Regions from separate parts of the Homo sapiens genome. Here region 1 is linked to region 2. The links are contacts of gene promoters, found by promoter capture Hi-C in human tissues and cell types (Jung and others, 2019). All regions are on one chromosome and are shown on one strand. The core of a region is centred on a gene start or on the middle of the fragment in contact, and the rest is flanking DNA. Distances in the headings are between cores, read along the strand shown. Region 1 overlaps MYT1L (myelin transcription factor 1 like). Region 2 holds the start of PXDN (peroxidasin).

Region 1 (6,166 bases), core at 148-2,647, 41 kb after region 2:
TTTTTAATGAGCCTGGGTGCACGCGTGGAGGGATCACAATTACACCAATAACAAAAATACACAATTGAAATTTTAGTCTCACGGCTGAGGCATCACTTTAATTGATCAGATTCTCTTAAATATTTCAATTCTTAAAATGCTAAATATGCCTAATTCTAACACAGAAAATGCTTTATTTCTTCATTCTAATTTTTGCAACGTTGAAAGATGCCTACGACTGAGAGATGAAAATACAAGCGGACAATGGACCGACCACATGTAAAAGCAGACATCAGACCCACAACCAGCACAGGAAACCAAGCCCTTACCGGCAAGGAGCAGCCCAGGATGCCCGCCTGCTATCTGCAAATCAGACGTGCAGGAGTCCTGATCGCTGTCCCTAGTGACGATCCAGAAAGCTGAGCAACAGTGCCGTAACAATCAGCCCCAGCTGGTCAGAGCTTAACAACTCACAGCTGCCCCGACTTCTGCCCTGACGTCCCATTGAGGACAGACGGAGAAAGACAAACGTGCTCCCCCGACACTCACACGGGACGCCCCGATTCCATTTGCCGCCCCAGCTCCCAGGCCAGCAGCCTCCATCGGGGCTCACCGGGTGCCTTCCCTTCCCCGGGAAGCTCCCACGCCCAGCCTGCCGGAGTCTCTGCGAAAATGCAGGTGATGGTGGTCGGCTTCCTAACTCTGAGGAGCTCGGGATAAGCAGCCTCTGTCTGTTGTCATTTGGGCAGTCTTTGCTTATTTACACCCTACTAAGGAAACAATTTGAGGCTCCCGAGTAATTTTGAGGGTGGCCTTCCCAGCTTGATGAGGTTTTGTAAACCGTCTGGGGGGAGACACATGGTGCCTGAATTATGATCTCATTTTAAGGTAGTGTCACAACCTCAATTTTTCAGTTTCTTTGTAAAGTCAGTAACCTCCATCTAGACTTCTATATCCCCCGATTAACCTCTGCACTAAATTCTATGTAAATAACTTTAAACTAGCTCCTAAGTTCTGAAGATCTTGGGACATGACAACGCCGTATTCTTTTTAAACCTTCTTTTCTGGATAGGTGACATCTTATTTGGATTCTAATACTCTTAGGCCACATCTCTCTTTAAAGAGGTCACTCCTAGTATAGGAGGGAGACAGAATCCTGTTCACTCCAACAGGGTCCCCTCCTGGGTAGAGGGGCAGAGATTCTCTCTTTGGGAAAAGATGAGGAGAGGATTGGGCTTCTCCATGACCCGTCTCATTGCGGTGAGACACTTCTCAGGAACACCTCTGCTGTCAGACATGCCTGACAAAGCTGGGTCGTGGGGAAAGGCCTCCGCCGTCAGACATACCTGACAAAGCTGGGTCCTGGGGCGGATGCTGTTCAGGTGTCAGGAGGCCCCTTCTGTGGGGATAACTGTGTAAGACACCTCGCTTGGGGCTGACCCATACGAGATGTTTAACGATGGCATGTCTCTGGCTCTCTCCCCAGACGGTCTTGGGTGGTTTTGTTCCCCACATATCAAAGAGGGCAAATGAGTTGAATGCCTGCTGTTTGTATCTCACACATGAGAAGGAAACAATTTGTTCCTTAGAAAAGGGAAACGCTATGATCGCTCATGGTTTTTATCAGATGCTTCACATGTTTTGTTGGCGGCCTGTGGAAAGAGCATGGTTCTCTGCTGTTGCTGGGCAAGGCTGCTGGCCTCCGAGGGGAGGGACGGATCCTAAGGAAGGCCGGGCACCCACCGCATTCGGCCAGAAAACAAAGCTGTGGTGGAAGGCGGGGACAGTTGTTGGGCCCTAAGTATTGAAGCCATGATTTACCTTCGATTATCTCTCTTTCGGGCCCTAAGATGGAATTCTCAATTTCCTGATTCCATCACCGGCCCCTCCCTCTTCTTTCCTTCTCTGATTAATTTCCCACCTTTATCTGGCCATCTGCACACACATCCCTGTGTTTGTGGGTAATACTGATCCTTCTTTATTTCCTTATCTTACCTTGCTCAACGAAGATTCGAAGAAACTGAAGGGACACAAACAATGCTCTAGAAAGAAAAAACTCATTTAATTAAAAAGCAAGAAGAGGATGAGAAGAAACTAGGATGCAAGGATGGGGTCAGAGACCAGAGGTGACTCCATCCAGAGGAAAGTCCAGCATGCCCCACATTTGGCCTCACACAGGGGAGGCCTCATTAGGACCAACAGTGAGGCTTCCCCTTAGGCCACTCTATTTGATACTGAAAATGAGGGTGCTCAGGGGCTGCCATGTGCCTGTTTTATTATTATACAAGGAGGTCTATGCCAACTACATTTATTAGGATGGGATGTTTTCTTTGTGTCGTTTCCCACTTGACCCAGTGTCTGAACAGTGACTGATAACTTGTGTGTGTCATAGTAAGTGAAATACAAAGGATGAAAGCCTGATTATCTTCATGTACTTAAATTGCTTCTCCCTTAAGACCCTGAGCTCTGCCTCATTACCCAGCTGTGTTGTGTAAACCAGTAAGTATCTGAGACAGGTCTCAACCAATTCAGAAGTTTATTTTGCTAAGGCTGAGGACTAAACTCTGATTTTTTTTATCTTGCCCAAATTCCTATTGAAGGGGTCTGGGGAGTCACGCCCTGCAAACTATAAATTCTCATCAGATGGGTTTTATTTAACCTGTATATCATGACTTACTTTTCCAACCTGACTCTGGCATAACATTACAAGACAAGGAAGAAAATCAAAATATTTTACCCCAAAACATGTATCTTTGCCATATTTTGAAATGGCCCTGCAAAGCTGTTCTTTGTAGGGGGAAATTTTGCATCTGTAAAGAATCTCTGTTAACATAACTGGATCTTTTTCTTCCAGGCCTTCTCAATCCTGAAGAGATTAACTAAGATCCGAATAGGAAGGCCGGGCGAGGTGGCTCACGTGCCAATCTCAGCACTTTGGGAGGCTGAGGTGGGAGGATCACAAGGTCAGGAGTTCACGATCAGTCTGGCCAACGTGGTGAAAGCCCGTCTCTACTAAAAATACAAAAAATTAGCCGATGTGATGGTGTGCACCTGTAATCCCAGCTACTTGGGAGGCTGAGGCAGGATAATTGCGTGAACCCAGAAGGCGGAGGCTGCAGTGAGCCGAGATTGTGCCATTGCACTCCAGCCTGGGCAATAATGTGAGACTCCGTCTCAAAAAAATAAATAAATAAAAAAAATAAAATCTGATAGGAAACATTAGTCATCTATTGTCTCTAAGGGGAGCCACTATAAGACTTCACAAGAACTTTGGTTTCCACAGTCTTTATCTTAACCTGAACATTCCCTTTCTATCAATCCCAGGTCTTTAGACAAACTCAACCAATTGTCAACCAGAAAATGTTTAAATTCACCGATAGCCTGGAAGCCCCCACTTTGAGTTGTCCCACCTTTCTGGACCAAACCAAAGTATTTCTTAAATGTATTTGATTGATGTCTCATGCCTCCCTAAAATGTATAAAATCAATCTGTGCCCTGACCACCTTGGGCACATGTTCTCAGCACCTCCTGAGGGCTGTGTCGTGGACCATGGCCACTCATATTTGGCTCAGAATAAATCTCTTCAAATATTTTACAGAGTCCAACTCTTTTTGTTGATAACAAATGCCCCTTCATGCATTTGTAATTTTTTTCTGTACTCTTCATCTACTTTATCATAATCCCCTTATTACAAGGTTTTTATAGCCATTATTTTAAGAGCTCTCTAGTACTCCATAAAATTCATGGATCATGAATTGCTTAATCATTCCTCTGTAATAGGACTTTAGGGTTGTTTTTATTGATTTTGGTACATTTGTAATTGTTTTGGTATTTCTAGTATAGACTGAGATTGAGGCAAAATATAAATTTTCTAAGATTTTTGAAAATATTGTGAAATTGCTTTCTAAAATATTTACATCAATTCTCAGGCAAACTGTTCCTATGGACAAATAGCTTTTAATAATCCTAACAGACAGGCCTGAGCCAGCACATCATTAACTCGGCTTGTTCCTAAAGACAGCCTTTGACAGAGCTTCTTCCACCCTGCGGGTCTAGAGAGACAGAGATGCAGGGTGGTAGGAGTGAGAGTCGCCTCTCTCTTCTGTCAGCTCTGAGGACTCTACCAAGGACTGGAGGGGGACTCACTGCAATCACCAGTGCTTCCAGGAAGCAGTGCTGTTGCAAATGAGCCATCCGAACACACTAGCTTATAAGAAGTGCTCAGAGGACCTTGAATCGTGAAGCAGCTGAAGGCACCACTGGGAATAAATTATGAAATTTAACTAAGATTATCAGAGTCCCTTTCTCAAATTTTATATTTTGGGTGATTGTGTCTATGAGAGGAGGGTATTTTTGGAATTTTAAACCATGACATTAACTAATATAGTTGATGTGAAAGTGGGTAATTCATTGTTAAATTATATTTGAAGGGCAATTTAAGTTTATGGGTGACTTGCTGCCGGGATCCTTGCCAACAGCATGGAAGTAAGAAGGCATCATCTTTCAACACCCAGGTAACCAACGATGGGCTGCCTGTCCTTCTGCTCCCCTGACGTGAAACTGGAGAAGGACACGTCTCCCAGTTAACCCGAATCAGTCAGGAGGTGGCAGCCAGTTTGGGACATTTTGTAAAACAATGGCCCTGGGCAGTTGAAAACTGTCTGTGTTCTGGGAGACAGGCAGGCCGAGAAACTGCTCAGTAATAAGAGGTGACAGGGACAGGAACAGGGACAGGGACGGAGCAGCTGGGAGCAGTGCACCTCCTCTGGGAGACAGGCAGGCTGAGAGTCTGCTCAGTAATAAGGAGGTGACAGGGACAGGGACAGGGACAGGGATGGACCAGCTGGGAGCAGCGCGCCTCCTCGACTGGATTCCAGAAGAAAGGCTCTACAAAGGACGTGACCGCCCTGCCTGGGCGCGCTGAGATGCTGACGCATGCACAACGGCAATGCCCCCAAGTGTGGTGGCTGCAGGGCTGCTGGTGGAGAATTCCCTGCCCAGGGGAGCCCTGTGCTGGGAGGCACCGTGTCCTCCGTCCAGGCTCGCTCTCAGATGGCCTAGCCCAGCGAGGGGCAGGAGCGACAGCAAATGGGAAAAGGACGGCCCAGTGGGGATGCCGAGACACTCACATAGTTTTCTAAAAGTCATTGACTTCTATATGCCTCGGAGTTGAGAATCAAACTGGTAAAAATGTTAAAAGCAACTAAGTTGGAGTGAAAGGGTTCGAGTGGATCCCACGGGACCCCAGACAGCATTTCCCAGACTCAAGTGAAGACGCAGACCCGGGTTAGAGATCCTTCGTGCTACAAATGTGGCAACACCTTGTTTATTTAGAGTAAGATGTGTTAACATCCAGCATGACAAAATTTGTACAAAGTTCACAATTTAAAAATGAAGTATCACAGCAACTTGTGATTCCACACATTTATAGCAAAATTAAAGTGTCAACAAACCCATGCCGTGTAGTACAAAAATAAATCAAACTTCAGTTCCACAGAGAGCACAATAAATAGTTTATACAAAATTCTGTCTTAATAAATGATTACTTAAATTAACTTAGAAATGAATATGAACAATAAGTTATAATAAACTCTGATGACTCACAATAATCCATATGAAAGGTCAGCATTCTAATATGTGACACTTTTGTGATCCCTATATAATAGTCACAGATAACTTTTGATTTGAGATTATGTACCAACGTTAGATGAGCAGCAGGTTTGTGCTTAAAATCCCTTTCCATTGTACATAGGTGATAACAATAAGAATCCAAAACTGATACTATCTAGTACTCTACTAAAAGCATTACTATATTGGCAAAGAAGCTGCAGACACAACGCGGTGGGGAAATGCATATGCTGTTATGAACAATGGGGGCCCTAAAGGCAGCTGGGGCCCTGGGCCACACGGACGGCCTCAGGTGACTGCAAGCACCTTGCTTCAGCTCTCAAAACGCATTCTGAGCATGGCAGCTGCAACCAATAGCACAACAGAAAGGGGGCGCTGTACAGAGAAGGTTCCGCAGAGCCCCGAAATAATTACATCGTCTTTTCCCAGCTAGTTATTAAAGTCCTTGTGGAAAACTGTAAGCTTTTGTACAGTGAACAGTATAAAGTGCCGCTGGGATATACATATATTTATACACATATATATATACCGAGGTTGAGTATTGTATCAGAATATTCGT
Region 2 (5,916 bases), core at 3,214-5,713:
TGCAGTCTCCTGCCCAAAGGAGGAGAGGCCTGGCGTCCCGGGACCGCGGGTACTCCCAGAAGACGCAGTCAGATGTGAGGGAACTTCCCGGGAGCAGGAGGGTGCAGAGGAGGAGGAGGGCATGGGAAGTGCTGAGGGTGGACAGCCAGGGAGTCCCCGGCAGGCGGGCCCCTCTGCAGCACCAGCCAGCCGGCTCCCTGAGTGCCAGGCAACAAACACCCTGTGACCTCTATCTGCGTGTGAGGAGGAGAGGTCCTCTCCGAAAGGCAGCCAGTTCTCCAAGGGAGGTCAGGGAAGCTCCAAGGATGAACCTCGGGACCCATGTGACTCACTCAGGCGACGCAGTCTCCTAGACACAGGAAGTCAGTTAAAAGGCCCAAACACCCACTCCCACCTATGGACTATGAGCCCATAGACTCCCAGAGCCCCCAGAGGGCCTGGGGGGCCTGCAGGCGGGAGGAGACCCACAGAGCAGCAACACTGGAACCTTCTGCTCATGTGAACACAGGCCGGGAGGTGGGCTGGTCCACTCAGTCCAGACCACCAAGAGTGCAGGGTCCCAAGCACTGTGCGCCCTTTCCCCATACCCCGTCCCACCAGGACTGCACACACCTGGGGTCATCTTACCACTCCCAGGAAGCCCCCTGACTCTCTGGGGGCCCCACTGGACTGGGGATTCCATGAGGGCAAGATTCCGGTCTCGTTTTCTGTGGGTGGCCCAACACCCAGCACACGGCGTGGGCCTAACACCCAGCAGATGGTGAGAAAAACTGAGAATGAGGAGCAGCTGTCTGGAGATTCTGCAGGAGAGGAGGCCCCGCCCTGGCTGCCATGCGCCTGCCTGTGGTTTCTCTGCAATGCGACCTCCCTGAGCCCACCCCAAGCTCCACATGCCCAGACCCCTCCAATGTCAGGGTTTCTGTCACAGAACTGCAGTTTGGGACAACTCATGGCTTTGCAGCGGCCTGGACTGTGGTGAGGATGTTAGTTTTGATGAATCCATGACCATAGCCTCAACCGTGGCGGCTCCAGGGAAGAGAGGAAGGCAGGACAGGAGGAGGGCGTGGAGGGCCTAGCTCCAGTGTGTCCAGCCAGCACCCTAGCGGCGTGACCGTGAAGAAGAATGTTTCAAATGTGACCTCCCCAAAAAGCCTGGGGTTGAGAGGAGGAAAGGAAGGGGCGTACAACGGCATACTTTATCTTTAATACTAGCTTTGAACTACCATTGTGATGAACTTCTATTGTGTTGGGTACAGAATGATTCTGTATTCAAAAACCAACCATTTCTACACAGCTGAACTAAGTAAGGCCTCCAGAGGGGAGGCGCTCTGCAGGAGACCCAACAGCAAGGCCAAACCGCCGACCGAGCAGCACAGGGCGCGGGCTCCTGCCATTCCAGAGCTCCCTTCACACTTGCAGCTGAGGGAGCTCAAAGGTCGATCCAAACTGAGTCATGGATGGGCTTATTCCACTGTTTTCCAAAGCCCCCAAGCCACAAATCAAACAACCCAGTATCAGACCCGCTTAAACACACTCCTGGAGCATTTGAGGGGAAGGAGCAATAAGATGTTTTCCAATGGCTCTGATTTAATCTTTTGGGGGACTGGGATGGAGGTGAGTCTCTAAAAGCAAAGGGACGGTGTGATGGTTGGATGAGCCAACTAACTTTGGGGCAGGTTTTTTTTTAAATTTTCATATATAGTATATTCCCAATTTCTACCAAAAAATTGTAATAGAAAATAATCACATATACATGAGAGCACAGTCCTGGGAGAAAGCCGAAAGTGGACATGAAATGTTGCTTCACGTGTAGCATGTATCATGTAGAACTGTGTCATCTCAAGCAACAGCCTACCAGACCATGCCCCCAGAGACCCCTCAACAGGATATCCCCGCAGAATAGGTCTCCCTCTTCCCTCAGTCCCTGCCTCCCCAGGCTGCACTCACTAGCGCTCGCTCATGACACCTGTCCACTGTGCCTAGGTCCGCACAGCTACACCCTCACGTTCTCCCAGGAGACACGGGACTTGCTAAAAATCACGCGGCTGCAATGCATCCAGCCAGGACTCCATTCTGGCCACCAGCGCTACGCTCCTCCTCTTGGCCACAGGAATAGCGTCAGGAGCTGCGCTTCTCTCCCAGAGCTTCTGTTTCCACCGCCAGAAAATGGGTATGTTCATTTCTCCAGTAAAGTGTTTAGTTCTATAAGGGATTCGATCAACTTAACAGCTACCAGTCTACCTGCCTCACAGAATCAACGTGACTCAACAGCGACATTTCGAAGTATCACTGAAGACTGCAAAAACCCCTGAAAGTTTAAGATAGAAATGGATGCAAATGTACCCTATGAGGAAGTGTTGTGCGAGTGGACGATGATGTCACCCGTCTACTCTCAGCTCCTTTTTCAAATTCGGTGAGGCGTTTGTGGACGAGCACACCATGCAAAGCGGAGCAGAGGACCCCATGTGTGTCCTACGACACTTATTTTAACATGTTATTTTCAACAAGCAATTAATATTCCGGGGCAAAACATACCGCAAGCTTTATGAAACTGACCAGATGGGAAAAATCTTTGAGGTGCCATTTTTCCACTGGCTCAGCAAGAATTACATTATCCAGACCCAGGGAAACCTCACCCGGCTCCATTCTAAAAGTCCACTGCTGTTGAGTGAGATGCCCCCGAGTCGTCCGGCCTGGGCTGACCATTCACGGGCTCTGGAAAGAAAGCCTTGGTCTCTCTGCGGAGGAGGAGAGGAACTCGGGCCCCCGCCCCGCCCCAGGGCCTCCAGGAAGCAGCCTGCAAACTCGGCGACCCCTGGGAGCCGTGGTCTGTCCCAGCACTTTGTTTCGGAGGTAGGCGCACTGGCCGCCCACTTCCTGAATTGTTCACTCAATTTTTTTACAACTTTTGCAGACTCTTTGCTGGTGCCAAAAAGTCCTCTGGCTCAGCTAAGAAACGTGAAAACTATTTTTGGCATGCAGAAAAGTCGCTACAGGACTAAATTAGAGTCGGCGCCTGAAACGCAGCCCGCGTTCACAGATCCCGAAAATGTTGAATCCGACTCGCTTCAGAACACAGGAGGCCTGCAGCGAACTCTGGCGGCATCTCGGTACCTGGAGCCGCGGGGCGGAGGGATGGGGATTCCTGCTGTGGAGACCGTGACGCGGGACGGCCCGCAGGACAGGGTGTCAACCCCAACGCAACGCATCCGGTTAAACGTATAGCGCAACTGCGAACACGCTCGCGTGGATTAGAAGCGAAAGAAGAGAAATGCCCGAGGCAGAAACCCGCTCTGAGTCCCGGCTCCATCTAGACCCGGGCTGCCCCGAGACTACCGCGCGGCCCCTCTCGGGAACCCCGGCCGCCCGGCTCGCTCCGGGCGCAGGAAAAGCCCCTGAGAAGCGCGGGGCCCCCAGGACACCCCAGGAGAGGACGCTCCGGGCAGATGCGGGGGCACTGGGAGCGGGGGCGCCGCGGCTGCGGGAACTGAGGCTCCTCTGGGGAGGCTTCCCCGGCGCGGGGGGATGGGGTGGGCACTGCGCTCCAAGGGGCGGGGGAGGGGGAGAGGGCGGAGGCTGGGGGAGGAGAAGGAAGGGGGGGAGGAGGAGGGGAAGGGAGGAGGAGGAGGAAGGGGAGGAGGAGGAGGAAGGGGAGGAGGAGGAGGAAGGGGAGGAGGAAGAGGAGCGGAGGAGGGGAGCGAACAGGACGAGGAACGGGGCGGAGGGGGCTGGGAGGACGGAGGGGGCTGCGCCGCGCTCGGGGAGCGGAGGGGGACCGAGGGGTCCTGAGCGGGGGAAAGGTGAGCGGAGGAGGGGCCGCGAACCAGGGGGAAGCGGGAGGCCGGCGGAGCATGAGAGGGGGCGGCGGGAGGCGAGCGGGGGGAGCCCCGGAGGCTCCAACAACTTCCCAGTCCTGCGGGGATTCCGAGTTCCGAACAAAGGCGGCTACGAAGGCCGCGCGCACAGCGCTCTGTTCCGCCCCTCGGCGTCTCCCGCAGGGCGAACAAAGGCCCAGCGGGTCCCCGCGCCCAGGTCCCCCCACGTCCCCCTTCGGAGGTTCCCTTCTGCGTCCCAAGTCCCCAGGCCCCCCGCGCGCCCGATGCCCCCTCCACCCTCCGCGCCCCCCACCTCCGATCACCCCTGCGCTCCCGGATCTCCACGAAGCCCCGGACCCCGCGCCCCCGGCGTCCCCCGCGGCACTCACAGGATGGAGGTCTGCGGCGCCACGGCGGGCACGGCCTCCAGCAGCAGATGCATGCAGCGCACGGTGGTGCGGAAGCACAGGCAGCGGCTCGGACACCCTGCGCCCGGCTTCTGGGCCACCACGGCCAGCGTCCCCCAGGCGCAGAACAGCACGAGCGCCAACAGGCAGCGGCGCCCGGGGCCCCTGGAGCGCTTGGCCATGGCCGACGGCGCGGACGGACGCTCGGACGCACGGAGCCACCACGGCCGGCTCCCGACTGCGCCCGCCCGGCCGCGGCCCACGTCCCAGCTGTGCGCGGGGGGCGGGGGGCGCCAGCTGTGCACATGCGCGAGGCTCCTCCCGGCCCCTCTGAATCCCCGAGGGCGGGGCGGGGCGAGAACCCGGGGCCCCAGCGTCCGGCCTGAGCGCCCTCATCCCGGTGGGGCGGCCCGCATGGCCAAGGCGAGCGCTCGGGGGCGCGGAGGAGAGCATTGGCACCCCTGATTCTGCGCTCGAGACTCGGGGCTCGGGACCCTGGGGCCTACGCGAAGCTTCTCCACTTCTCTTACCCGTGGTTTCTGCCTGCGCTCACTACGGGTTTTTTAGTTGGCGCCTTAATGTTTGTAACACTTTTAGAGCGCTTGCTCTGATCCGGGCACGATTCCAGGCGCGCAGGCGCGCTCCTCTCTTTCTCCTTCTCCCTACCCGCAACCACGTAGGAAATTATTTAACGTTCCAAAAAAGCCCCTCATTCCTTTTGAGGAAACTGAGGCCCAAGCCCCAAAGCGCACAGCAAGGGAGTCTGCGGGAAGATTAGACCCAGGCGGTCCGGCTCCCCGGGGCCTGTCAGCCACCTGCTCTCTGCCGGCCGCCTGGCTCAGCACAGTTGGGAAAATGAAAGGTCCTGTGTGGAGTCCTTGGCGCGGCGCAATGCAGCCCCCGGGATTCTCGCGGCCTTCAGTGCGTGCCCTCCTGGGACAGACCTAGGAGGAGACCCAGGGAACCCCCCCCCCCCACGTCGGGTGTGTCTAGAGACAGCAGAAGACTTTGGAAAGGAGGGAAGACACTGCGTGAGATACGCACAAAGGTGGCGTTCTCACATAGTTCATACATTCTCTCCAATCATCTCACAAGGACCCAGTCTGAATTTCACAGACAAGGAAGGTGAGGCCAAGTTGCTGAACCCAGGCCACAGGGTGACGGTGCCAGATTCAGAGGCACAGCATGGGCGTGTTCCCGTCGCAAACCCCAAGTCTCAGCTGTGTCCCCGTGCTGGTGTTCTAGCCTGAGCTGCGTTTGAAAGCAGCCTGGAATGGGATTGGTGGGTAATAGGCTAGTTTCCTGTTGCTATGTTAAAACACAAAAGCAACTACCACGAGACATAGCCCGGAGGTCACAGGTGCATTGCTGACCACAGGGCACCATCTAAGGACTGGACCCCCGAGGCTGCTGGCAGGGGGTTCCAGTTCCTTGCCGTGTGGGTCTCCATGGCCTGCACACTGGACATGGCCTGATGCCTCCCAGAGCAGGTATTAGAAGAAAGAGGAAGAGAATGAGAGTACAACACAGAAGCCAGGGTAAAACCTAACCCAGCCTTGGAACTGGCCCCGCATCACACCTGCGGGGTGCATCCTCAGAGGTCGGTGGCTCCCGCTGACATTCCAGATGCCATCTTTCCTGCAGGATTTTATCCACCCTCTACAGCGGATGCAGCTCACACTCCGGATTCCATT

The links. Contacts are between HindIII fragments. The study calls those that stand out against the background at their distance.
Region 1: a contact is called between a fragment that was not itself captured here and the fragment with the promoter of PXDN in region 2, in 1 of the 25 tissues and cell types used here (IMR-90 fibroblasts).

The regions. Positions count from the first base shown.
Region 1 is chr2:1,783,847-1,790,012 of GRCh38, forward strand. It overlaps MYT1L (myelin transcription factor 1 like), which reads right to left. Exons shown (of 25, transcript NM_001303052.2): 25 at 5,267-6,166. Among named protein-coding and RNA genes, the nearest start is that of PXDN, 42 kb to the left of the region's middle. The HindIII fragment of the contact is 3,158 bases long and covers 1-2,976 here.
Region 2 is chr2:1,740,052-1,745,967 of GRCh38, forward strand. PXDN (peroxidasin) reads right to left here and starts at 4,464. Exons shown (of 23, transcript NM_012293.3): 1 at 4,205-4,464. The coding sequence starts at 4,404. The HindIII fragment of the contact is 6,203 bases long and covers 3,638-5,916 here.